7 separate regions of the Homo sapiens genome follow, and regions 1, 2, 3, 5, 6 and 7 are each linked to region 4. The links are contacts of gene promoters, found by promoter capture Hi-C in blood cells and fetal thymus (Javierre and others, 2016). All regions are on one chromosome and are shown on one strand. Each heading gives the region's core, a stretch centred on a gene start or on the middle of the fragment in contact. The rest is flanking DNA. Distances are from core to core; before and after follow the strand shown. Region 1 overlaps CFAP20DC-DT (CFAP20DC divergent transcript). Region 2 overlaps CFAP20DC-DT (CFAP20DC divergent transcript). Region 3 overlaps CFAP20DC-DT (CFAP20DC divergent transcript). Region 4 holds the start of FHIT (fragile histidine triad diadenosine triphosphatase). Region 5 overlaps FHIT (fragile histidine triad diadenosine triphosphatase). Region 6 overlaps CFAP20DC-DT (CFAP20DC divergent transcript). Region 7 overlaps FHIT (fragile histidine triad diadenosine triphosphatase).

Evidence for each region. Contacts are between HindIII fragments. The CHiCAGO score rates a contact against its expected background, and 5 or more counts as called.
Region 1: a fragment that was not itself captured here is called in contact with the fragment with the promoter of FHIT in region 4 in 8 of 17 cell types (total CD4 T cells, naive CD4 T cells, activated CD4 T cells and 5 more); the score reaches 13.9 in total CD4 T cells.
Region 2: a contact is called between a fragment that was not itself captured here and the fragment with the promoter of FHIT in region 4, in 2 of 17 cell types (naive CD8 T cells and naive CD4 T cells). The highest score is 6.2, in naive CD8 T cells.
Region 3: a fragment that was not itself captured here is called in contact with the fragment with the promoter of FHIT in region 4 in 6 of 17 cell types (naive CD8 T cells, total CD4 T cells, naive CD4 T cells and 3 more); the score reaches 8.7 in naive CD8 T cells.
Region 5: a contact is called between a fragment that was not itself captured here and the fragment with the promoter of FHIT in region 4, in 2 of 17 cell types (naive CD8 T cells and total B cells). The highest score is 5.2, in naive CD8 T cells.
Region 6: a contact is called between a fragment that was not itself captured here and the fragment with the promoter of FHIT in region 4, in 3 of 17 cell types (total CD4 T cells, naive CD4 T cells and non-activated CD4 T cells). The highest score is 6.9, in total CD4 T cells.
Region 7: a fragment that was not itself captured here is called in contact with the fragment with the promoter of FHIT in region 4 in 4 of 17 cell types (total CD4 T cells, non-activated CD4 T cells, naive CD4 T cells and 1 more); the score reaches 6.1 in total CD4 T cells.

The regions. Positions count from the first base shown.
Region 1 is chr3:59,569,236-59,573,004 of GRCh38, forward strand. The region is part of intron 6 of CFAP20DC-DT (CFAP20DC divergent transcript); the gene reads left to right. Among named protein-coding and RNA genes, the nearest start is that of CFAP20DC-DT, 480 kb to the left of the region's middle. The HindIII fragment of the contact is 3,038 bases long and covers 86-3,123 here.
Region 2 is chr3:59,501,786-59,505,398 of GRCh38, forward strand. All of the region lies in intron 5 of CFAP20DC-DT (CFAP20DC divergent transcript), which reads left to right. Among named protein-coding and RNA genes, the nearest start is that of CFAP20DC-DT, 420 kb to the left of the region's middle. The HindIII fragment of the contact is 2,582 bases long and covers 773-3,354 here.
Region 3 is chr3:59,586,553-59,590,385 of GRCh38, forward strand. The region is part of intron 6 of CFAP20DC-DT (CFAP20DC divergent transcript); the gene reads left to right. Among named protein-coding and RNA genes, the nearest start is that of CFAP20DC-DT, 500 kb to the left of the region's middle. The HindIII fragment of the contact is 4,368 bases long and covers 1-3,833 here.
Region 4 is chr3:61,249,720-61,253,499 of GRCh38, forward strand. It overlaps FHIT (fragile histidine triad diadenosine triphosphatase), which reads right to left and starts at 1,733. Exons shown (of 10, transcript NM_002012.4): 1 at 1,582-1,733. LOC124909387 (a long non-coding RNA gene) reads left to right here and starts at 1,873. Exons shown (of 2, transcript XR_007095939.1): 1 at 1,873-1,908. RefSeq lists enhancers at 322-601, 882-1,011, 1,152-1,281, 1,412-1,471, 1,536-1,830. The HindIII fragment of the contact is 4,935 bases long and covers 1-3,052 here.
Region 5 is chr3:59,871,260-59,875,078 of GRCh38, forward strand. All of the region lies in intron 8 of FHIT (fragile histidine triad diadenosine triphosphatase), which reads right to left. All of the region lies in intron 2 of LOC105377113 (a long non-coding RNA gene), which reads left to right. Among named protein-coding and RNA genes, the nearest start is that of MIR548BB, 740 kb to the right of the region's middle. The HindIII fragment of the contact is 1,154 bases long and covers 1,969-3,122 here.
Region 6 is chr3:59,547,973-59,551,980 of GRCh38, forward strand. The region is part of intron 6 of CFAP20DC-DT (CFAP20DC divergent transcript); the gene reads left to right. Among named protein-coding and RNA genes, the nearest start is that of CFAP20DC-DT, 460 kb to the left of the region's middle. The HindIII fragment of the contact is 915 bases long and covers 1,640-2,554 here.
Region 7 is chr3:59,765,902-59,770,018 of GRCh38, forward strand. All of the region lies in intron 8 of FHIT (fragile histidine triad diadenosine triphosphatase), which reads right to left. The region is part of intron 6 of CFAP20DC-DT (CFAP20DC divergent transcript); the gene reads left to right. Among named protein-coding and RNA genes, the nearest start is that of CFAP20DC-DT, 680 kb to the left of the region's middle. The HindIII fragment of the contact is 7,479 bases long and covers 1-4,117 here.

The sequences.
Region 1 (3,769 bases), core at 355-2,854, 1.7 Mb before region 4:
TCCTGCAGATATCTCTATGTCTGTTTGCCATATCCCTTTCTGCTTTCTTTTGGTTAAAAATCAGAAGACCCCTCAAAGCAAGGCAAGCTTCCCATCATGTAATAACCTTCCCGCATCTCAGCCTTATGCCCCAAGCTGAAATCTGGGTCTATCCTTACCCCAACCTTCGCTGCTGCTTTAGTTTCACAAGCGCAGTCAGGCTTCCTCTATCCACAGGGATTTTCAAGCCAGCCCTAGCAGTCATGCAGTTTTTCCTTCCTTTTCTTATTTACTGTTCTACTCTATCATTTTTATTATGAAAGTCCGACTCCCTCCTTTAAGAAGACAAAGGATGGAGTGGTGTATTTTATAAGGAAATGCTCGCTGTTTCTTCCTTCCCTCTAATCACTGCTGCCCTTCCACAGGTAACCAAGGGCAGTAGCTGGGTGTGGATTGCCAGCCTATACATTTCCTTTTCCCCACTTCCCTACATCCAACCCATCTCAAAGCTCTTTAATTCTATCTTTAAAATGTTTTTCAAAGCAGTGCATTTCTTTCCTTCTTTCCTAGTCATTGTCACCCATTAGGTGTATTTATTTCCTAGGGCTGCTGGAAGGAAGCACCACAAATTGGGTGACTTAAAGCAACAGGATTATATTATCTCACCATTCTGGAGGCTAGAAATCTGAAAATCAAATGGTCAGTAGGGCCAGGCTCCCTCTGAAACCTGCAAGGGTGTCCTTCCTTGCCTCTTCCTGGCTTCTGGAGGTCTCTGGCCTTACTTGGCCTTACTTGGCTTGCAGCTGCAGCACGCCACACTCTGCCTTTATGCCATCTGGGGTTGTCCCTGTGTGCCTGTCTTCACATGCCTGCCTTTTTATAAGGACACCAGGCATTTGTTGGACCCTACTCCAGTATGACCTCATCTTAACAAATTATATCTGTAATGGACCCTATTTCCAAATAAGGTCACATTCCAAGGAGTAGGGGGTTAGGGCTTCAACACATTTTGGCGGGGGAGGAGGGGACACAATCGAACCCATAGCACAAGGCTACAGTGGACTAGCCTCTTACTTTCTCAGAGTAGAACCTGCCCAGCAGCCAGAAGAGTTCCTTCAATTTCATGGAGATCCAGGCACTCTTCTCCTTAAAACCCACCCTTACAAGGCTTCCGTTGTACCTAAGGTAAAATCCAAGCTCCTGATACAGTTGACAAGGCTTTTTTATCTGGATCCCGCTCAGCTGTGCTGCTCAAAGCCTTTACCTGTAGCCCCTCTCCCTTCATTCAGCCCCCTCGCCCTCCTCCCTCACGCTCCTCATTCTTTGCTGAGTTAGCCCTGCTCCTCCATCACATCATATTTTGAATGCTTCTCCTTCCTGGTGGCCTTCCCTGACCCCTCCAAAATCTTGGCCGTATGTACGCAGCCTTTTTTTCCTCTCTCACTCTCCTACGTGCTTATCTCACCTGTACTGATGTCATCCTCAGGGCATTTGTTTAATGTCTGTCTTAAACAAGTGTTGACGAACTAGGGCTAATGGGCCAAATTTGGCCTGTGGTCTATTTTTGAAAGACCCTTGATATGAGAATGGTTTTTTATATTTTTTAGTGTTGTTAAAAACAAGCATACAAAAAATACAAAGAAAATATGCTTCAGAGACTGCAAGTGGCCTGCAAAGCCTTAAATATTTATGCTCTGGCTCTTTATAGAAATGTGTGATGATCCCTGGTCTTACCTACTATCAACTCCCTGGGAGCCAGAATCTTGTCTGTTTTATTTGCTGCTGTGTCTGGAAAATCTTGCAAGGGGTCTGGCACTTACTAAGATCCTTGCTAGATATACAGTTGTGAAGTGAATGAGTTATTCAATGAATGGTTGGTTCTCAGTGACTGTTGATTTAGGAGAAACCAATCTTTTCGTAACAGCCAGAGAGACTTCTCTGGTAGTATGTATGGATTTTGATAATCTGGCAATTCAGTCATTTAATAAATAGTGAGGACCAGTGACATTTTAGACATTAGTTGAGTAACCAGGGAGGGAGACTGAGCTCTTCTCTTGGGAAACTCATCTGAAGAAGAGATGCAAAATGTGATGAAGGGATTTAACCAGGGCATCACTTGTGAAAGAGAAATTTAAACAGTGTATTCCTGGAGGCTGGGTGTGATGGTTCACACCTGTAATCCCAGCACTTTGGGAGGCCAAGGAGGGTGGATCATGAGGTCAGAAGTTCGAGACCAGCCTGGCCAATATGGTGAAACCCCATCTCTACTAAAAATACAAAAATTGGCTGGGCATGGTGGCTCACGCCTGTAATCCCAGCACTTTGGGAGGCCAAGGTGGGTAGATCATGAGGTCAGGAGTTTGAGACCAGCCTGCCCAATATGGTGAAACCCCATCTCTACTAAAAATACAAAAATTAGCTGGGCATGGTGGCATGCATCTGTAGTCCCAGTTACTTGGGAGGCTGAGGCCAAAGAATCGCTTGAACCCAGGAGGCACAGGTTGCAGTGAGTCAAGATTGCTCCAAGGCACTCCAGCCTGGGCAACAGAGTGAGACTCCGTCTCAAACAAACAAACAAACAAAAAACAAGTGGATTTCTGAAGGTTCAGTTCCTCCTTGGTGGTAGGGAAGAGAAGAAGGGGATGCTGTCATCTAATTTTATATTATCAATACACAAACACTGTTCTCCTAGAGACAAATTTTCCCCAGATGGGCTGGTTGTTGCTTTGCCTCTGGTCCAAACAGGACCATCTCTCATGAGTCATTCTCACTTTGTTGCCCTCAAAGTGCAGGTAGTTGTGGAAAAAAACAAAACTTTAAGCATCCTCAACTCCAGCCTAAATGAGAAAGCTGTTGTCCTGTGCAGCCTATGGAAACTCTTGAGGAATGAACCAGAGACCGCGTCCCTTAGTAGACAGCTGAGCAGCCCTTCCTTATCCAACCACCATCTTTCACCACAAGGCATGTCCTTATGGCTGTCATTTAAAATCCCACCTCAGCTTTTATTTTTTCCAGGTTGCTGCAGTTTTAATGCCTATTTTCAGAAGCAGGATGAATCTGAGATACACAATCTGCCAGTTGACCTAGCTTCTTACAATTCAGTGATTCATTTCAAAATCTCTCCCTGTGAATCTTGAGAAATCAAGCTTAAGGATAGTGTTAAGTTGTACAGAAGGTCTTTGTTCTTCCCACTTTTGGCTAAATTAGAATCGGTTTGTCTTGGACTTATTCTACGCCTTTCTACTAGAACTTACCGAGATCTTTTATTTCCTAACTGTATTTAAATTTTCTTTTTAATGTAAGTCCTTGAGAGTTGGCTTTTGTCCTCCAAACAGGTAGTAGCCTCATCATACAGCTGGAAGTGCCCTTCTTCCCCTCAGTTCTTCCTGCAGCTCCCAACTTGAAGTCCACCCCCCTCCTGGAGGCCTTCCTTCAGCACCAGCAGCTAAACACACCTGTTTTTGAGGCTCCCACGCCTCCCCCAACAAATGAAAAGCCAAATCAAGGGCCCAAATTTGCAGAATAATTAAAATTATATCATTTGTCTATCACAATGAAAGATACAATGGGACTCAAATTCACTGACACACAAGAAGATGGAGAGTTCATTAAAAGAACATGTAGCATAGAAGCTGAGTCCTGCGGTGTGGTGGTGAGGTCCTGGCACAGGACTGATCAGAGCCGCAAGTGTGACATCTTTCGGTCTGTAAGTTGCCCCCTGCACCTTTGCAAGGCTCCGCAGCATTGGGAATAGGAGGCCCTTTGAAATGAGAGGCCTGGCCAAACACTG
Region 2 (3,613 bases), core at 814-3,313, 1.7 Mb before region 4:
GACATCTGGCAATAAGCCATTCCCCGGGGGCGTCCTGTGCATCTCTCATGTCTCTGGAGACTTCATCCATCCAAAAAAGTATTCCATGGCCAGGTAGGTTTGGGAAACACTGTGTACGACATGACTCTTTTTCTTTTCTTTCTTTCTTTTTTCTTTTTATTTTTTGAGACGGAGTCTTGCTCTGTTGCCAGGCTGGAGTGCAGTGGCACGATCGCAGCTCACTGTGATCTCCACCTCCCGGATTCAAGCGATTCGCTTCCTCAACCTCCCAAGTAGCTGGGAATACAGGCACCTGCCACCATGCCCAGCTAAATTTTTTTCTGTATTTTAGTAGAGATGGGGTTTTACCATGTTGGCCAGCATGGTCTCCAACTCCTGACCTCATTATCTGCCTGCCTCAGCCTCCCAAAGTGCTGGGATTACAGGCATGAGCCACTGCGCCCGGCCAGGGCATGAGTCTTTAAGAGTCCTAGGACAAATTAGCATTTACAACCTCTGAGATGTTCCATAGCAAAGGAAAAAGAAAGAAATAGTGAAAACTGAACTTGCTATTTCTCATGCTCATTTAAACACGAAACCTTTTTGCCATTTAATACTTTTAAACAGCTCCTAAAATCGGTGTTTCCTGCTGGTCCACAGGAAATCTGTCACAATAAGATATAAGGTTTTCAGACTGAGATTCGTAAACAAAACTCCTCAAAAATTGTACTTTGATCCAAATGCAGATTCATATAGTGCCTTCAGAACCTTTGAGATCTGATTCTATTTTTAAAGCTTCTTAGAAGAGAGATTGCAAAGTGGGTTGTTTCTCTAGCCAGACAGGGCAGGTAAATAGGGGTGGCTGGTGGGATGGGAGTTCATTTGCACCCATGTACAAATTGCTGGGGGTCATGGTGAGCTGGAAACCTACAGCCCTCAGCTGCAGCCAGTGGCTGCTGTGCAGTGGGAATATGGGTCAGATCAGTGAGAGCTTTAAGTTTCTTAGAGGACATGGAAACCTGTAATTTTTAAGCAGGGAATTTCACAACTTTAATGTGTTACTTCACATTTTTAAAATACTGTGATGACCCAGCAAAAACAACAACAACAACAAACAGATGTTGAGACCAGCCCCATCTCGTGAGCTACCAGGTTGTGACCTTGCCTGGGATGGGGCTGTGGACTATTTTCAGATTAGTAAGACATAATAAAATGAAAGGATGTGTGAGTCTCTGAGGCAAATGCTGTGCCTGGATAAAGATGTTGGTGACTCATGCCCTCCATAGATTCGTGATGCTTTGCCTTCATCTTTCTTGACTGCGAGTCAGCAGCATTGACTCAGCTGATGACGTCTTCCTCCCCAATACATATTTTTCAATTAGTTTCCAAGCCTGTTCTTTTGCTTTTCTTCCTACCTTCTCCATCTCCTTTGCTGTTCTTCCTCTTTTCCCCAGTATGGGAAGGGTTAGAAAGCTCTAGGGCACAGCCCTTGATCCTGGTTTTCTTTCTTTCTTTTTTTTTTTTAATTTAACTTTTATTTTAAGTTCAGGGATACATGTGTAGGTTCGTTATACAGGTAAACTTGTGTCATGGAAGTTTGTTGTACAGATTATTTTTTTTACCAATGTATTAAGCCTAGTGCCATTAGTACCCATTATTTTTCCTGATCCTCTCCCTCCTCCCACCCTCCACCCTCCAAAAGGCCACAGTATGTGTTATTCCCCTCTGTGTATTCATGTGTTGTCATTACTTTGTTCCCACTTACAAATGAGAACACGCAGTATTTGGTTTTCTGTTCCCACATTAGTTTGCTAAGGATAATGGTCTCCAGCTCCATCCATGTTCCTGCAAAGGACATGATCCCATTCTTTTTGATGGCTGCATAGTACTCCATGACATATATGTACCATATTTTTCTTTATTTAGTCTATCATTGATGGGCATTTAGGTTGATTCCATGTCTTTACTACTGAGAATAGTGCTGCAATGAACATACGCAGATTTACTCATTTCCTCGGCAATCTCACATGGCTTCACAGTGGTAGATGCTATCTATATGGCAAGAGTATACAGATTTATATTCCAGCCCAAATCTCCTTCCTGAGCTCCAGACTAGTATATCCAAGTCACTTGTCATCTCTCGTCTGAGATCTTGAGCCCAAAAGATCCAAAGTAAAACTCCTAATCTCCCGACCCTGCTAAATCTCCATACACAACTTTGCCTATCTTGATTAGGGTCTTGGCACTGGTGATGATGGACAGTGTGGTGAGTTTTGTCACTTCCTTCATATCTTGAATGAAGTGTTCCCTTTCTAAGGAGGTCTACCCTGACAACCCTGTTTTAAATTATACACTCTAGTCTGATATACCTCTTCCTGTGGCACTTATCTTCTAACATACAACATATTCTTCTTTATGTTTATTTTTTCAGCATCTTCCTCCCCACACTGGAATGTAAATACACCAGGGTGGGAATCTCCATCTGTTTTATTCACTGTACCCTTAGATTCAATATCAGGTGCATAGTAGATACTCAATAAATATGTATTGAATGAATGAATGAATGTCAGTTGTCACTTGGTTAAAAAAATTTCAAGAGAAGGTATGCTTAAAGCTGGTCATAAAAGTTTAATGTTCATTGTCCACTAATTGCATTGAACCACAAACCACTGCTGTGTAAACAAAGAATGTCTTCATGATGTTTTTGGTAGATAGAAAACCTACTACAGTAGGGGCAGGTTTGAAGAAATGATACGTAAATATATATATACATACACACTCTTTTTCTGATCAGCAGTTCCACATGTTGTTGCAGAGACCAAATATTCTAATGGACATGACTGTTTAAGCATTCTAGCAGCTTTCTGCTGGGTTTCCAATTTTAAAATTTAAAAGAAGAAAAAAAGCACTGCAGTCTTCTCCTTCAATGGAATAGCTCATTTCCCAGCATGTTGCTAATCTCCAGTTTTGCCCCAAAGATAGTATTTTAAAAACTTTCACACCGAGTTCCTTTGTGTATCAAAGACAAAGTTATTATCAAAATTATTACTCATGTTCTTTGTCATGCAAAAGGCATAAGTAATGTTTTTAATAATGCAAGCCATTAAAAAGTAGATGGGCTGAATTCATTGTGCCTGTTTCTAACCCGCTTTGGGAAAGGATTTTTCTACGCAGAAAGGTGTAACCCCTTGATGCCTGCATGAGTCTTTCCCCCCAGTTTTCAATATAGAGTTGAACATGTTCTTCATTTAGAGACTCAGAGACAAAGCTGCAGCCCTTCAAGTTATTTCCATCAAGAAGAAAAGGGTTTTGAAGGAGATAGGCTCACTGAAAGGAACAACTTTCTTTGGTAACAATGGATTTGGAGGAAAATAAAGCTTGTGGGATTTCTTTAAAGGATAATTCCCTCATTCAAAATGGTTTAGGGTTAGGGCCATTGGACAAGAGATATCTTAGGAGTTAAGATTCCCTTCATGACTGAAACCTTACTATCACTGGCTAGCTAAGAAATAATTGTGGTGTGTGGGGAGCGGATACTTCATATATGTGCCCCTGTTTTCCTAGGCACTTAAGGTCATGAAGTTCCTGCTTGGGTATCACTAAGATTAAAGAATCTATTTCCACTGAGTTCCAC
Region 3 (3,833 bases), core at 800-3,299, 1.7 Mb before region 4:
GAAAACATTCCAGAGATAGATACTCAAAAAACAAAGATAAAAAATTGGGACATTCTGTTTTTTTTTAAAAAAAAGTCTAAAATATGTTGAGAAAATGATATAAGATATGAAAAAAACAAATCAAAATTAAAAATATTCAAATTAGGTGACAAAGCTCAAGGAATTAAAATAAAAATAAAAAGTCATTTAAAAAATAGTGGCTAAACTAGAAGGAACAAAGGAGTAAATAAACACAATATAATGCCTTAAGAAAAATGGAAGATAAAAGGAGGGAATTTTTTAAAATCAAAAAGAAATGAAGAGATAAAAAGGATTCACATTAAATTGACAAATATTGAAGAGGCAAAGAAGATCCAGTATATAGATAATGGGAGTTTGTGAGAAAGAAAACTGAAGCAAGGAAGAAGAACAAATCTAAAAATATAATTAAGAATTTTATCCTGGAGTTAAAAATTTTTAAAGTGCATATTGTGAAAGACATTTTTTCAATATCAACCAATAGCGAGATATAGCCCAATAAAATGTCTGAACTTTTTTTAAAAATGGAAAATAACATTTGAGCATCCTAACAAAGAGAACCCTTGACTTACAAGGGAAAGAATATCAGATGTCATCAGACTATTTGACAGCAACATTTTACTTCAGAAGAAAATGGAATTAAGAAGGCATAAGGAAAGTCATCATCCACCACAATTGACCTTCTAGTGTAAAGGGCATAGACAGTCATCAGTATCCAAATTGGAAAGAAAAGTCACATTAGCCTTGTTTGCAGATGACATGGTCTTATACCTAGAAAAAACTAAAGACTCCACCAAAAAAACCTGTTAGTACTGAAAAACAAATTCAATAAAGTTGCAGGATACAAAATCAACTTACAAAAATCAGTAACATTTATATATAACAATATCAAACAGTCTGAAAATAAAAAGAAATCTCATTTACAATAGCTACAAAAATATATAAAATAACTAGGAATCAAGCTACTCAAGGAAGTGAAAGACCTACAAAAGGAAAAGTACAAAGCTCTGGTGAAAGAAATTCAAGAGGACACAAAAAAGTGGAATGATATTTCATGCTCATGGATTGAAAAAAGTAATATTATTAAAATAAGGATACTACCAAAAGCAATTTACATATTCACTGCAATCCCTATTGAAATATTAATGACATTCTTCACAGACATAGGGAAAAAAATCCTAAAATTTATATGGAACCACAAAAGACTCTGAAGAGCCAAGGCAATCCTGAGCAAAAAGAGCAAAGCTGTAGGCATCATACTACCTGACATCAAATTTACTATAAAGCTATAGTAACCAAAACAGCATGGCACTGATGTAAAAAGAGACACATAGACCAGTGCAACAGAATAGAGAACCTATATATAAATCCACACATTCACAGCCAACTCATCTTTGACAAAGGCACCAGAAACATATAATGGAGAAAGGGCAGTCTTTTCAATAAATAGGGGTAGAAAAACTGGATAACTATTATACAGAAGGAAACTATATATTGTAAATGAAAATCTAATCAATAGATTAAAAGACTTAAATCTAAGGCCTGAAACTATGAAAGTACTAGAAGTAAACATTGGAGATATATTCCAGGACACTGGTCTGGGCAAAGGTTTTTTGTGTAAGACCTCAAAAGCACGGCAACCAAAGAAAAAATAAGTGGGATTACCTCAAGCTGAAACACTTCTGCACAGCAAAGGAAACAATCAACGAAGAAAAGAGACAACCTGCAGAATGGGAGCTAGTATTTGCAAACTATGCATCCAACAGGGATTAATGACCAGAGGAGTTCAAACAACTCAGTAGCAAAAGGAACAGTCTAACTTAAAAATGAGAAAAAGATATGAACAGACATTTATCAAAAGAATACATATAAATGGCCAACAAGCATGTGAAAAAATGTTCATCGCTAGTTGTCAAAGAAATGCAAATCAAAACCACAATGAGATCTCATCTCACCCCAGTTAAAATGACTTGTGTCAAGAAGACAGACAATAACAGATGCTGGTGAGGATGTGGAGAAAGGGGAACCCTCATATACCTTTGGTGGGAGTGTAAAACAGTTAAGTACAGCCATTGTAGAGAACAGAGTGGAGGTTCCTCAAAAAACCAAACAAAGAGCTACCGTATGTTCCAGCAATTCTACTACTGGAGAAAAAGAAAAAAAAAATATATATATATATATATTTGTGTGTATATATGTGTGTACACACACACACACACACATATATATATATATACTTTTTTTTTTTTTTTTGAGACAGCGTCTTGCTCTTTAGCTCAGGCTGGAGTGAAGTGGTGCCATCTTGGCTCACTGCAACTTCTGTCCCCCTGGGTTCAAGCAATTCTCCTGCCTCAACTTCCCAAGTAGCTGCCTCAGCCTCCCATGTAACAGGCCAGACGTGATGGCTCATACCTATAATGCCAGTGCTACTGGGAGGCCGAGTTCAGGTGGATAGCTTGAGCTCAGGAATTTGAGACAAGCCTGAACCACTGCACTCCAGCCTGGGCAATAGAGCGAGATTCTGTCTCTAGAAATCAAAAACAAAAAAAGGTAGCAGTGGTAAATGTTATGTGTGTATTTTACCACAATTTAAAAAATTAAGAAAAAGGAAAAAAATAAATAGAAATGTAAGATTTCAGGGGTTACCTTTCCCATTCTCTCTCTCTTTTTTTTTTTTGTCAAGGAATCTAGTAGAGAATTGTCTTCAGATTACCAAAATGACTAGAGACCTCAATGTTAGAACTGGCAGTAGGCACTAAATGTATTGTGGCAGTACTTGTGTGTCTATGACTAAGAAGAGAAAGATTCTGGTAAGTAATGCTTGTATGATTTGAGAATGCAGACATAGTACCACAATAAAATGAGGAGAAAGATGGGAGAGCATATGTAAAAAATGTTCTATAGTCAGGAATCATTATTGATGGCTTTAGTGTTGTTATTCCAAGACTCATGTATGTATACAAGTGTAATGTAGGAAAATTAAAGTAAATTTCTTAAGCTCCCAAATTTGAATTAAAAATATCATTATGAATTCATGATATATTTAGACGTTGAGCATTGATGACTTCTACATTCAAAAAAAAGCGAAAAACAAGACATGATGCGTCTCCAGGTGAAACAACCCAGTACCACCATTAGTCTTGCCAAAAGCATCAAACTTGAATGTAATTAAGCCTCTTGATCCAGTTGTTAGTTTGCAAGAAATACCAAAGAGAGAGGCTCATGTTGAATTGTCTGTGTGTGCAACCAGTAAAATCCAGACTGCAGGAAACTCTACATGTATGGCACAGGTTCTTCAACAAATACATAGTAAGGGGAAAACATGGTTGGAGGGAAAAATATCTCAACTAGAATACCTTCTTCACCTTGCATTTATATTGGAAGAATAATAGAAGAATTTAAGAATTGCCTTAAAACTCCTGAAATTTCTTAAACAATTGGTTGTATGATAAGAAAATGTAGGGAAGATTTGAGGATTCAACTCATGGCCATGATAGCAATAGCTATTATGCATGGAAAGCCTACCATGTATCTGGTACTGTAATAAGAACCTTCAATGTATTAGCTCTAATCTTTATAGCAATATAGCAATTCTGTGAAATAGTAAATATAATCCCCATTTTACAGTTGAGAAAATAGAAGCACTGACAGGTTAAGAAAATTTCACAAGATAATTAATACATAGCTGAGTCAATGGGCTAACCCAGGCCGGTGGACTTCATAGCTCATAATTTTTAACTACATTGTATAAAAAATTAACTTGAAAATGTGTATTAAGAAGCCTATGTTGTAACCTTAATGCTATCATTTGGGAA
Region 4 (3,780 bases), core at 483-2,982:
ATATATATTATATTGCTAGCTGTGTAATCATGGGCTATCTTCTCAAGTTTTTTCTCATATACAAATGGGAAATGTAGTATTAAAAAGAGATCATGTGAACAGGTTCTAAATGGTCAAGTGTTAGTGGTTTTGGAAGCATGTACGTTAATACTTGGAACACCGTATACAACAATCCCATATCTAACACTTAGAACAGCATATGCAATCAATAACAACACACACACACACACACACACACACACACACACACACACACACACACACACACACAAACCCTAGACTTCTTTCTTTACTAAATATTTCTAGTCCAGGTTGCAGCAGGTGGACACAGGCCGGCAGCCATGAACGCAGGTCCACATGGGAGTTGTAGTTCCGAGTCAAGCGGCTGCTCTACAGAACGGCTAGAAGCGAGACTTCGTCTCCCAGGAGACATCTCGCCGTGCAAAATGGCACGCCACGAGGTGGAGTACCTGCCCGACGAGAAACAAGAGGCGGGACTGCAACTCCCAGAAGCCTCCGCGGCCAAGGCCTCAGGCCGCAGGCTGAAGCCAAGGAGGGAGAGTTCAGGTAGATCCGGCTTAACATCAGGTGCGAGTAGGGACCACCCTTGGTAGTCTGGGCCCGGCCCAGGTCAGAACCTTACTAAAACAACCACTGTGAGTATTTTCTATTGGTCCCAGCACATTTCTGAGAGACCAGAATAATAATAGCAGTAAATCTGCAAGTGGTAAACTTTCACAAGCATAACCTCAATTTAGATTTCGGCTTCAGGCAACATCCTTTGGCCACTTGACCTGGGAGCATTGAGCTCCTTGTTTCCCAGATAAGCGCTGTGAGTGGCTGTTCCAAGGTAACACAGCGAGGGCAGAATGTGAGCCTACAGAGAAATCTGCAGATGCATCTCAAGTTCCACTAACCTGCCTCCTTACCCCCCACCACCACCAACTTGGATATACCTTTAAAATTCCCCCCTTTGACGCTAAAAATAAAAACAACAACCATAAAATAAGTGTAAGAAAGTCCGACCAAGTACCGATGAGTTCTCCCACAACAATAAATTCGATGCCTCTTTGCCTGTTTTTGAAGTAGTAATGTAAAATTATCTCCCAAAATGCTGCCTTCTCTATACTCCGGTTTGCTCCTGTCCTGGGCACGTGTTCAGCAACCCCTTAGGGGAATCCAGAGCTGCGTGTTTAACACAGACCTGTTGGGACGGATTTTCGCTACTTGTCTATGAAACTGACGAACCATCCCAAAACGGCGGGTGCCGACTACACCCCCAGAGCCAAGAGCTGTGGCGTCCCCGGACCCGCTGGCGTGGCCCCGTGCCTCAGTTTCCCCAATGTATAAACACGGTGGAGGAGGAACGGGTTAGGGCTAGGGTCGGTGCTTGGGAATTGGGGGGCCCGAGTCCCCACCCTGAGACCCTCGTGGGGCGGAAGAGTACTCGGGACAGAAGCCCACCGCCCCGTGAGCGGCGCCGGCCCCACTGGGCTCCGGGGTGATGACCTGACGCGCGTGGAAACCCAGACCCGCGCCCCAGAAACAGTATTCCACTTGGGCTTGCCTCCCCGCCCCTACCTTCCAGGATGTTGACAGCTGGGAATGAAAGGCAGAGGGAGGGAGCGCGGGGCCGGAGCGCCGCCTGGGAGTGTGCCCACTGGGTGGCCGCCTGAGGGACCCGGGAACAGAGGGCAAAAAGTCCTGTGACCGGACAGAGCAGAGCGGGGACTGCAATTCCCAGAAGACCCCACGGTAGGGGCGGGACCCAAGATGGCCGCTTGTCTGGGGACAGGAGCGGAGGCCAATACGCGCAGAGCATGCGCCTACGCCGGGCCAATTGAAAGCCATAGTGACAGTAACCCTGATTCAGGGGCGGGAAACACTGACCACAGAAGACAAGTTGAGGTGAGAATCCCCTTACAAGGGGGTTTGGGGCATAAATCGCACAATCTTTGGCTTTTTCTAACTAGAAAAAGAAACATGATTCTTTTCACGTGTAACGAAAGGCTGTACCGCACTTTTGCTTTTTTCTTTCCTCCCAAAACGCGTTTAACTATCCCTTCACGACTTCCCACTGGCTGGATTTCTTTTCGTTTCATTTCCCCACTCTGGATCTTTCTGGATTCCTTAAGCCTTCTTTTCTTTATGTGTCTCTCAGAAACACAGACTTGCAGTCCCTGGCTTGATCCATCAAATAATGTGGTCATTTACGACTACGCTCAGCCCTCCCTGGCATCCTAACAAAATTGCACCACATGCGCCCCTTCTCTTTTCCTTTCTGTCTTTTCTGTGCTGTTTTTCTCCTTAGCATTTGTCGTTACGAAGCATTGTATAAAATTTACGTATTTATCTTTTTTACCATCTTACTTTCTCACTAGAATGCAAGATCCCTGCAGATGTGGATTTTTGTTTTGGTCACTGTAGTCTTTCTAGCACCTAGAAAAGTGCCCAGCACATAGTAAATACACCGTATTTTCAATAATTGAACGAAATCTAGAGTGACCTTTCTCCCCTAGTCTCCCTTTCTCTGGTGCAGATCAACCCGTTTCTGACCACCATGGTTCCTTGTGCTTGTTCCCCTGTTTAATCCAAAATCATTATTGATGTATTCTGTGCCAAATGCCATGTGGGTGCTGGAGAAATCATTGATTCAGACCCAATTCCTAACCTCAAAATGCTCTGTCTAGTGACGTATGAAAAGTAAAATTAATTTTACAATAAATGCAATTACAAATTGCAGAACACCTACGTAATTTTCACAAGGTCATGCAGCTCCTAAGCAAGGACTAGATTCCTGGCTGCAGACTCTTGCCATTACATCGGGAAAAACAAAGAGCAGTTTTCTCTCAGACAAACACTAAGATAGGTCCCCATTTTCCTTAGCACCATTTCCTTTCTCTGTCTCTCACTTTTTTATTTGGCCTGATTCATTACATGCAGGCAATTACATCAAGTCTTAGATCTCTCATTATTTCTAATATTTGAATCCCATGGAGAGTAGCAAGGTGTCCTACAAAGTGTCCTGGTGTGAAAATCTGATGTCCTTGGAAGCTTGACTCTCAGAGAATGTCACATTGGATTATAGTTCATCACACAGACACCATGGCCACATAAAATATTATCAAATTGTGAATAACAAAGTGAAATTGAAAAAAAAAATATAGTTAAAACAGCAGGAATGTGAGCAATATATGTACAGACTGATTTTGTGCATAGAGATTAAAACACCTGTTCAGGCTTCCTAGCCTAATCTTCTGTCAATTTGGGGTCATTTCCTGTAATACAATTCTTTGTTGCTTTTATGAGCACAGACTTAGCTCAGCAGTCCCAGCTATTCTCAAGCTGATCGACATGAGAGATTTCAACACATGTGTCAGCAGCCAGACTAAACGTGGAAGAAAATCAGAAGCATTTGAAACTGTAAAGCTCAATAACTTTCCTCCTCCTGAGAAAGCATCAGCCTATAATCATTACATCTTCTACTTAGCAGTCAAAAGGCAAATGTCATGAACATACTCAGGGTCTAAACAGTGGTGTCTAATGATTATTGCACTGTTGTCAGATAGCCTAATATGAGCACATAGGTATTACTTCAGCTGTGGATAATGCTGACTGCTGGGCTCAAGGTCACCCACGACCTTGAGCAACAGATACATTCACAAAGAGCATGAAGACATAGAACTTGCATTGGATTCAGGACCTTCAAGTGCCAAGACAATCAGTGGGAGGTTACTGTCTGATCTGCAACTTGACTGAATTAATAACCACCTTAGTATG
Region 5 (3,819 bases), core at 1,296-3,795, 1.4 Mb before region 4:
AGCCAGTGAGAGCAATATCAGAGAGCATCAATATTGTAAATACGTTTTGATCTTATAGATAACCTGAATTTTGCTGTGTGCGCTATTAATAACTAATATTTGTAAGAATCTCAACAATTTTCAAAATGCTCTCTTATATGTTAACAAATGTAGCCCTACTACAATCCTGTAACATAGTATCCTTACCCACCCCCCCACACACGCACACATACAAAGACCACCACCTCCACCCCATTTTTCAGATGAGGATAATGGGGCTTAGAGTATTTGGGTGACAAGGCTAAGCTCACATAATAAGTTTTACAGGCTAGCAGGAATAACACCAAAGTTTCATTTTATTTGCCCACTCCAAAGAACTGATAATGACAGCCAGCCAGGAAGCTACTTGGAGGCTGTGTCTGGGTTCAGTGGGTAAAGAGTCTTTGAGAGATTAGCAATGTCTGCCGGGTAAGACCAGATACACTGGATACCCTTGGATAGATTCCAATCCAGGTAGCCTAATTTCCTTTTCCACATCCTTTAGCACTCCACATAGAGTTGTTTCTCACAAGTATCCACATTTAAAAGAGGTAACCTCCCAGAACAGAAACTAGCTGACATTTTGGAGGCAAAGTCTGTTTCTCTTGCGCACTGAAGACAAGAAGAGTCAATTTGTGATACGTGTTACAGAGATAATACACATCTAAACAGCGGTGATAAATGCATGGGAATTACAGGCAAAACCAAGGTGATACAAAGTTTCCAAAGATTAGATGTATCTCAGATTAAACTCTCCAGATTATACTAATCAATTACAGAAATGGGGCTGAGTGGGAGTAGTCACTGAAGCCACCGTTGATGTACTTTCCCTAACCATTTTATGCAGGCATTCCTTCATGGGGGTCTCCTCAAGTCACTGGAGTCCTCAGCAGGGGAAAGGAAAACAGCAATAGAGAAGGAGGTTAGGATCTTGGGCTTCATTTTGGGAGTCACAGTACTAAAACATCACCTCATGATTAGCAGATAAAAGGTGCTGCCCTGGGCTCAGGCAATTACAGGAAGAAACAACCCTAAAGCAGAATTCACAACATACTGAGTTCATGAGGAGGGCGATGAGGCTGATGTGGGGACTGGCTTTTCTTCTTGGTGACTCAAAGACAAAGCCAGCAGTACTTATTTAAAACATGCCACGTGCTCATGTTTATGTGAGGAGTAGAAGACAACGGCTTTGGTAAAGGAGAAAATTCACTGCATAATTGAATCTTTGAAATTCCAGAGGGAATGGCCTTTTCTGAGAACAATGTCTGTTATTAACAGAAGAATTTCGAGGCCAAATGCAGAGTTTTCCACCAGGTTGCATAGTGAGAGTCATATTTTGAATGGATATATAGTTTTTTAAAAAAAGAACTCTGAAGAGTTATGGATGTTTCTCAATATCTTTCTCAAGAAGGCAACAGATTTTGGACTCAGCAGATAACCCTTTATCCTATAGCTGTAGTGATGATGACATGATAAGCTGTGTAGCCTGAGCTTAGATGCAGAAGTGAATTCTGGGCAAGGGTCCCACTAACCTGTCTTCCCTGGGCTCCAGACCCACATCCCTAGCTCCTTGTTGGGGGCTCCAACTTGTACAGCCAGCACATCAGGCTCAGTAGGTACAAAGTTGACATATCAATTTTCCCATGAAAAGAGATCTTGTTTTGACAACACTAGTCTTTCAGTTACCTAGACTCAAAATCTAGAAGCAGCCCTGCTCACCTTCATCTCCTTCACAGCCTGAACTGAGTCAAGGGTCAAATCACATAGCTGGGTTAGAGATATTTTTGACACAATTCCTTCCTTCCTTTCCACCCACTTTGAGTTGGCACTTGCTTAAACACTCCCTGTTTTACCTCTGGATAGTTACAGTGCCCCTCACTTGTTTCCTCATCTCCAGTAATTATCCATTCCAACCCATCCTTTAAACCCATGCCAAAATCACTTTCATAAAGCTTACCTCCACATTCAAATCTCAGTACTCTACCAGGCACATGGTGGCTATTCAGGTAATATTTTCTGGATGGATGGATGGGTAGATGGACAATGTATTTACTCATCATTTACTATATGCCTGACATTGTGCTGGGTATTAAAGACAGCAGGAAACAAACCAACTTCTAACAAAACACTTCCCTGCTCATGAGCCTTGAATGGCCAATTAACATAAATGGTTCATTCCAGCATTCAAGCCCTTCTGCAGCACAGCCCCATTCTAATTGTTTCACTGGTCACCTACTCTCCCATCTGTCCTCTAGCCAAGGGTTTCTGACCTTAGCACTATTGACATTTTGAGCCAGACAATTCTTTATTGCAGCTGCTGTCTTCTGTATTACAGCATGTTGAGCAGCATCCCTGGCCTCTACCTACTTGATGCTAGTGGCACACAGCCCCACTCAAGTTGGGACAAGCACACATGCCTCCAGACAATGCCAAATGTGCCCCGGGGGAGAAGAGTCGAAAAGAACCCAACTGAGAACCACTGGTCTAGGGTGGCGCCCAATTTACACCCACTGTCCTAGGGAAATTATTAATAGTACTCCCCTTTCACTTTCACATGTGTTCCAGTTTAGAAGACAAACTAGATTGGTTCCCTGCTTAAATCTCCCGAGACAGCAACCTTGCTCTGTTCTCATGCAGATTGAAGAGGAAAGCAACAAATTAGTATGAAGCCTTCAGCTTCCAAGCAACACTTTTTTTTTTCTGGTGAACCGGTCTCCTCTTTAAAGATTCAACTTCTCTCTTCTTCTTTCAGCACATGCAGTACTGGGAAGTAAAACTGGCCCAAATGCTCTGCAGGGAAATGTGAGGATCATAAGCTATCCTCGCCTCTCAAAAAAGAATCACAAAAATATTTACAGCTTTTCTCAAAAAGTTTCATGTTCCAAAGATCCCCTTCTACGTCATTCTAACCCCAAATGCCTCAAAAAGAAGTTCAAAGCTCTCAAGTCCATCGATCCAACTTCTTCTCTGGCCAAAAAACAATTTCGTGCCATGTGTTAATGCAAAGGGCTCATGCTGTATTCACGAAATGCCAAGACACCTGGTTAAAAAGTTCAAAAAAGTTAAAAATTGATCCATAATTTCGACTAGCATGGTAGTTCTCAAGCTTTACTGTTTCAGAATTCCCTGGAGTGCTTGCTGAATTGGAGGTTACTGAGCCCCAGTCAGCAGAGTTGCAGATTTAGTAGGTCTAGGGTGAGGCACAATAATTTGCATTTCCAAGTTCCCAGGTGATGCTGATGCTGCTGGTCCAGGGATCTAGAAGATGCCCGCTGCTCCCTGCTTATTCCCTCACAGACTGAAACGTACGATATTACGGGGTTAGGACAGTGGGCTTGGGAAAGAAGGGAGGGAGGTCAGGAGACTTCATCCGGCTGCTTGCTTAGGTTTTGTGTTTTTCATTTTTTTTTTTTGCCAGTTAGTCAGAAGAAAACGATTTTACCCTGGCCTGTGCTGGGCACCATGCTAGGCACTAGGGATGCAGCAAGAACCAGACAGACCTTGCCTCCTGCTGTTTTCCCCTTTAGAGCCACAAGCTCTTCTATGGGCTCCAATTCCATTCCTTCTAGCACTCCCTTTCAGTTCATCAGCTGCTAATCAGCACCTTCAATCACTCTCCAAATCCCCACAAGACAGCTTCCATTTTTCAAAAGCAAAGCCAAAGGGAAAATCAAGAGTTTTTAGAAGCATCTCCTATTTCGGCAAGTGCTTCCCTTTTTGACTCTGATCCATTTCATCAAAAACCCTTATTAGAGTGGTCCTTCCCAGGTGTATCTTTTTAGTTACCTCTGGAGATAGGAG
Region 6 (4,008 bases), core at 847-3,346, 1.7 Mb before region 4:
ATGCAGAAACTGAGGCACAGAGAGGTTATGTAATTTGCTAAGTGGGATATAGCTTGGAATTCGTGATTCAGGTTTGAATAAAAGAGCTGTCTGACTCAGAACTTGTGATCCTAACCTTGCATATGCTTAATTGTTCTACTTCTGATTTTTTAAAAGCCATACGATTTCAAAATAGTCCTAACAAAACCTTAAGAGAAAATAAACCTGCAAGTTATTTTTACTGAATCATGCATAAGACAACTCCAGGAACAGGCCATAACTTCATAGGTTTAAGTATGAGTTTGAAAGGAGGCATATTGGCTTATCATTTTAATTCTTTTTATGATAAAAAGGAAGACAATGATCTTTGGAGGTGTGGGAGGACAGGATCAGGTAAACAGGGTATGATTTACAGTTTTTAAACACTTAGGTCTACAAATTATATTAGCTGTTGCCACCTAAAGTTATCTCTGCAGCCACCTAGAGCCATACTCTGAATATTAGTTTTTCTGAGATAAGTGCATTGGTTTCAAAAAAAAACAGACACTGGAGCTATTTGTTAGTACACTGTGCTTCCCTCCAACTTGCAAAACTCAGTGTCCCAAATCTACTGTTAGCCACATGCATGAGCAGCTGCATTTCAGAAGATATTTTTAATACATAAACAATAATTTTTCTACTTGAAATTCATAGTAATAAACCCTGCTTAAGAGTACGATTTAAAGCTCTTCAGAAAAAAAGATGCAAAGGATTAACAATGCTTACGTGGAGAATAAGTCTATTAAAACATACTGGTTAGCATGCTCTGATGAGCATTTTCAAAGAATTTCCTAATGTTTGTTTAGGACAAATGCTATTTAGTTTATTTATAAAATGTTAAACATGTTGTAAAATTAGAACATAGAACCCTTGAAGATTTTCCATCCTCAAGCTAACCAAAAACTTTTTCTTAAAGTGCCCTTAAAAATATTAAGAAACAAATCTCTTATGGAAATATCAAGAAAAGTTCCCTGGGGAAAAACCAGCTTTTGGTCTAAGAAAGACTAAATGCAAAATACACTTATTTCTGAAACATATGGTACACATATAGTTAAATGTACAAACTTATATGTAATATATAAAATGAAATATAGAAAACTGAAATATATCTATACATATACTTAATATGTGTAAATACATACTTAATAAAATATTCTTCAAGTTAAAAATTAAATTGGTAAAATTATAGTAGATTATAACTGGTTTATACTGTTTGTTGCTTTTCTCTCATTATAACTAGTTCTGCTCTTGGATCACATTACACCATTAAATCTTTTGATAATTCGAAAAAAGTATTGCTTCCAGCTGCTGCTGAAAAAACAAACTAAAGAGGCCTTCTAAACTGGTATGAAAAGAGTTATCAAACAGGCTCCATTAATAAGAATTCCCTTTTCTGCACTTGCATTTGCTTGTTGTTGTTTTAGATTTAGCAAAGGCAAATCCCTAAAAGGCTAATAGAATACAGCAGTAATCCATGATTATCACTAATACACAAATGCCAGACTTTGTGTGTGTTAACGAGAGCTGACTGATTTGCCTTCTGTGAGTGCTGTGACTTCAGTCTTGCATTTTTCGCTCTCGTCTCTGTTATGTCTTCCTTCATTGTGCATGGAAATTAGAAAGCTTTCTTTTCTACTTTTACCTGAAAGGAAAAAAAAGTAAAGAATTTTCAATGTAAGCATTTTAGACTTAAAGACATCAGGCTTGAAAGAAGGATGTTCATAAAAGAACTAAACCTTTGCATAATTGGACATAATTCTGTGGAATTTGTTATTCCAGATATGGTTAAAAAGTGAAGGTTCTGCAAAAAAGTTAGGTAAATACCTGGGAGATGGATCTACAATGAGATACTGAGAAACTTTGAGCTGTTTAGGTAACTTGACTTCGTGGATGCAAACGACACTCCTCATCAGAAAAAGAATAATTCACTGGGCAGGCAGACCATTAGTCTGACTTGATTTTCCTTCATTTATTCATAAAATATTTATTGAATGTCTACTACATGCCAGGCTTTGTGCTTGACAGTTAGTGTGTGATAAATGATACAGACATTTTCCCTGGCTGAATGGAACTTATATTTGGTGGCTGAGAGTGATTATGATATTATGTGCTGAATGTAATAGCAGGGTAAGTAGAGAGTGCTGGTCTCAAGGATCTGGGAAAGTTTCCAGGAGGATGGAATTAAGCTGGGGTTTAAGGGAATAAGAAATCAGCAGGAAAAGTAAGGGGTGTGGCTACAAGTGTTCATTCTATACCAAGAGGGATCATGTGCAAGAGCTCGGAGATAAGAGAGACCCTAGGACAACCAAAGATGCAAAGAAGTTCCATACAACTGCACCTGGTTCAGGATTAATACACTAGACACTGTTTAGGGTGAAGTAATGAGAACTGTGAAAACATACTGAGCCTAGCCTTTGCCCAAAAACAGAGGGCTTCCATAACCAATGACGGAGGGCAAAAACAAGCGAAAAGAGGCCAAGAAGCTAGGCTACAGCCCAAGACCAAAGGAGAAACAGCATACATGTTAATGGCTAGAAGCTTTAAGGCAGACAAACTACACATCAAAGAGATGGATATACTGTAGTGGACAGGGGAAGGCCAGCAGTGATAGACAATGTTTTAGAAAATAGTGAAGACTGTTTTGAAGTAGCATCCATTCAGAAGTAGGTCTCAGCAGACTGACATGGTCGATGATGATGAACATGGAAAAAGTATTATTATTTTGAAGGTGAATGGGGTTGAGTGTGGGTAAAATATGACTTTCCTTTAGGAGGAAATTAGGTAGGTTTTATAGACAGCCTTTTGTCAGTTCTCCAAAAGTTTCTACTCCACATAAATTTAGGGGTCATGATTAGATACCCATTATTGTCCCTTCTACATTAATAAAGGCTACTTATTTTTAGAAAGATAAGTTGTTTTAAAAAAATTAAATAAAACATTTCAACAATACTAACAGAATGGTGAATAACATAGCAAACACCCATGTGCCTTTTACCCAGCTTTATTAAATTTGATTTCTACCAAATGTGCATGAGGTATTTCTAAGAAATAAAACATTACAGATATGTTAAATTTCCATGTATACCACTCTCCGATTCCATTTCCCTCTTGCCTTCCAGAGAGGAAAGTTATCCTGAATTTGGGGTTTATCATTTCTGTGTATATATATTTTTACTACTTATATATCCGGAAAGAATATAAAGAATTGGCATTTTAAAATAAATGTGTATAAATGACACTGTACTATATATGTATCATTCTGCATCTACTCAGCATTATGTTTTTGAGAGTTATCCATATTGACACAGGAAGCTCTAGTTGATATTTTTGAACTGATTAATAGTATATTATATCTTTAGTATATCATATTTTAAAGACATGTATGTTGCTGGATATTTACATTGTTTTATAAATTTTTGCCTTTACAAATAATGCTTGAATGAATTTCTCATCTTGTGAAAATGAGAGAGTATAGGTTGGGTATGGGTTGGGTATCGGTAAGTAGACATGAAATTGGAATTGCTAGGTCACAGGAATCACCCATGTACAATTTTACTAAAACTTTACTGCTTTCCAAAGTGGTCTTATCAGTTTACACTCCCACCAGCTGCATACAGGGCTCATATTACTCCATATCTTTTTCAGCACGTAGTATTGACAGACATTTAAATTTGTGTCAATCTAATGAGTATGAAATGGTGCATCAGAGTCCAGCTGGAACACTCTCAGTCTTTCAACAGAGGAAATTTAACACAGACAATTGATTAGACAGATGATAGACTAGCTGAGAAACCAAACTAGATAGTGAAGCAACATTCACAATAGTAGAAGGCCATGGTTAACAGAAATCAGAAACTAGGGTCACCTGTCTGAAATTGACACCAAAGGGGGATGCAGGAGGCGAGGTGGGAGCTGGACACAACAAGGCCTCCGGGGGCTCATGGAGGCTGCCAGAGGTCCTGCAGGAAACAAAGTGGAAAGGGGAAGAAT
Region 7 (4,117 bases), core at 82-2,581, 1.5 Mb before region 4:
ATGTTTGATAGTGACACACAGCTCATAGGGAGAAATCTTAACAATATATTAGTTTAAAAAAATTCCCTAAAGACAATAAAAATATACACACTTTAGGAATCCATAGAGATGCCTAAAACTATATGAAAAGTCACAAAGCAATGGTGAGCATAGATTGAGGATGCTGGACTGACTCCATGTGAGGAGACAAGGGGATGGTTTTTTGTGTGGGACTATCATACTGTTAGATGTGGGATAGTAGCAAAATCATAGGTTTTGTTCTGGGCAATGGGTTTGCAGATACTCATTAACATCATTAAACATAACTACTTACACAACTAAAGAAAAGGAGGCTATGATGGAAAACAAAGAGAAATGATCATCCTTGAGAGGCATGTAAGATTACAACATCGGATGACCGCAGTTTTCCTCAAGATAGGAATCCAGCTCCCATTCCAAAATGTCCACCAAAGTTGCAACATAGTAGCATTTGCCATATAAAAGTACTGGAGTTATTAACTGGATTCCAGATGTCTGAAACTGATGTATCCCTTCACTGAATCCCGACTAGGATCTATTTTGGGTATAGCACTTCACACAGGTTGCTGTTCTTAATTAAAACTTCTCTGCCTTAAGAGCTTTATGTCTGTGAGATAGTCATCCAAATGTTCTCCTCTCCATAAATGTGCTCTTATGTTTTATTTTCACAGCAAAATGCTTGCCCAGATTTTAATAAACATGTCCGCAGTAGTAATATACATTTCGCATGCTTTCCACATTTCATAATCTCTTTAGTCCTTTTGTTTATGTTGATTCCCACACCAAGAAGGCTGTTTGGAAGGCTTTGCAGCTCTGTCTCCATTTCTTCTGCCTATCATTGGGGAATGAAACAGCACACTGATTGCTATTTGGGTAGGAAACACAGACAAGACGTTGAAAGAAGTAAACTAATTTCCAAGCAATTTTGCTCCTTTCTCTCTTTTTGATTGATTTTGGCAATAACTCACCCCAGTTCATTGACATTAGAGTAAAGCCTAGTAGCCAATTTATTGCTTCAAAATCTGTGAGAGTTCCTAATTGGTTATCAGACTGTGTCTACCAGATGCCAAAATTAAATTTCTTTTAAATCAAGAAAAAAGTGATTTTCTGGCATCCCAGATGCAAAACAACCCCGATTAACTGTTCTTTCACATTGCAAATGGCTATTTGGGCCTTGGGTGGAGAGAAAACTCATCTACTTACAACAGGAGGGGGTCAGATTCTGGACTCGATCCTTCAGCCAAAATGCAGATAAACCACAAGGAACAAATACTACTCTATGAAAAATGGAGAGCTGGGCCGGGCGCGGTGGCTCACGCCTGTAATCCCAGCACTTTCGGAGGCTGAGGCAGGTGGATCACCTGAGGTCAGGAGTTCGAGACCAGCCTGGCCAACATGGTGACACCCTATCTCTACTAAAAATGCAAAAATTAGCCAGGTGGGGTGGTGGACACCTGTAATCCCAGTTATTCGGGAGGCTGAGGCAGGAGAATTGCTTGAACCCGGGAGGTGAATGTTGCAGTGAGCCGAGATTGTATCATTGCACTCTAGCCTGGGCAACAGAGTGAGACTTGGTCTCAAAAAGAAAAATGGAGTGGTGTTCCTGGCTGAAGGAGAGATGCCCTCGGTCCAATGTTGGGGAAATTTTTGCTCCCGGAAAGTGGAAACATCAAAGGACTGGAGCCCAACATTAAGGATGGAATAATTATGTTGTTGTTATTGTTATTTTTAATGGAGCTCTATTGAGTGCTTGCTGTCTGCCTGGCAATGTGCTCAGTGCCAAGTACAAACATGATCTCATTTACTCTTCATAAGAGTACCTACCCCATCCATGGTGCTGTCATTTCCATTTTTAGATGAAGAAGTTAAGGCTTAGAGATGTGATCTCATAGCTAGTAGGCAGTTGGGACTCCAGGGTCCCACTCCCTTTCTGTCTATTCCCCCTCCTCATATAACAATACATAGCATTTGCTAAGCAATACAGACTAAATTGAGGCTCTAACTTAACTTAAAGCTCTTTTGCATACAGAATGTTATTTGATGAACTCTAGGGTAGGTAGAGGCACAATATTATTATCCCCATTTTATAGAGAAGGGAACAAAGGCCCAGGGAGATTCAGTGAATTGCTTGAGTCTTCTGCCATGTTGGACTAAAAGCCTCAGTGTTGCTCTACTAAAAAGGTCCCTCAACTAAATATAACAGGGGTGGCCTGCATCTAGTCTCTGAATTGGAACATCACAACTGACAGAGCTTATATCGTGGGTTCTCTTATTTAAAAAGCAGAAATTCTAGGTAATGGTCCAGTGCAATTTCGACTCCATCTCCTAATCCTTTGACATCAAATGCTCTGGTCCTGACTTACTGGTCCTGGACATGGTTTTCTTGGCACAGTAGCAGGCCTTTACCATTTTACCTGCATCTCTCAACCCTTTGTCCTGTTTCCATCTCATGTGAGTAGGAGTTATTCTTTAAACAACTGCCTTGTATCTCACTACCAGCCCTTTGCACATACTGTTCTCCCTGCATGGATGGCATTTCTTCCCCTGATCCACCAGCACTGGACTTAGGTGGCCCTCCAAGATGGTTCCATTTCAGGACACTTATTGTACATGCCTTCTAATTTATCTTCCACTCTATAGGTTTCCTGGGGGCAAAATCATGTCTTTTCACAATAGCCAATCTTTTCTTTGACTTCCCAGACATCAATGTCATATGGTTCAATCTAATACCTTAACCATGACCTTATAAAACCAAAGCTAGGCACATAGGAGAGGCTCACTAAATACTTCTTGCCCAGATAAACTTATCACAGTAGATATTCAGAAGGATGACATAGTTGTACCCATCCTCAGTCCTCAAATAAGAGTTTAATTATGTTATGTAAACCATATGATATACTAGTGAGGCAGGAACAGATACACATTGTAAAAGAGATCCAGAACAAAATAAGATTTCTCTGTGGCCTTCGCCAATCTTAAAATGTAACTATATTTACTGAATCAAACTCTTACAGCATAATAAACTTACTTACAAAGAATCAGGGTAGACAGCCTAACCTTGAGTACCTCAAGTCTTTGCCCCTGGATCCCACATAACAATATCCTTCCCTCTTTTAAGGAAAGCTGGAAAGAAAACCACTCTGCCAGCAGAAGGGCAAATAAAAGGTATGTCTGTGCCTGCACACAGAGGTTGGCATCCTACCCTGATTTGTGACCCATAATTAATGTCAATTTCATAATTTCGGAGGATAGAAGATCAACAAGGAAGCTGACCTCTGGCTGTCTCACAGCTAATCATCTTTTGAGGCGGAAACTTGAGAGGAAACAGAAACGACAGGCTGGAGCACCAGGCTGTGGCTCGGAGTGTGTTTTGGGTGATCTGCCAAGCAGTGAGAACCCATGGTCACGTGCCCTCTCTGTGCTGGCCCCACAGTGACACCTGCTCACCCTCCATTGGGTAAGGTGGGAACCTGCATCCCACCCTGTAGAAGGCTTGGCTGGACGCCTGCTAGTCTCTACAAAGTTCCTTCTCATTGTGTGCACTCTTCTACATGGCTTCTTAATTATGTATGTGCACAGGCTGTGTCGAATGGAGTTGCCTTTGCCTCTGCTCACCACGTATTACATTTTTAATCAGTATATATAATTACTTACCGCAAGCTGCCAGGCCAGATTTTCTGAGCATTAGTCTAATTAACTTAAACTTGATAATTATGTTTCGGATACCATAGCAGTACACACGGAACGGCAGACTTTGCTGCCAGCTTATTTGATTCCAATAACGTGTTTTCTCAATACTGGACTAGTTTTGATTTTTTTTTTTTTTTTGAAAAAAATGGCCATCTGATAATTACTTTGGTTTCAAAATTTCCCCTCAGATAAACCCATTCTGCTATTTAGGACAGCTTCTCAAATGATTTACACGGATTGAACTGTTATAGTATGTTTCTGTGTATTTTTACACACACAAATCTGTTTTTACTAATATAAATTCAAACTGAGGAGAAATGACAGTAGAAGGAATTCTGATGGTCAAATGACAGAATTGTCCATGTTTCAACTGCTCTATGCATTGCCTTTTCCATTTCAATTTGGGTTG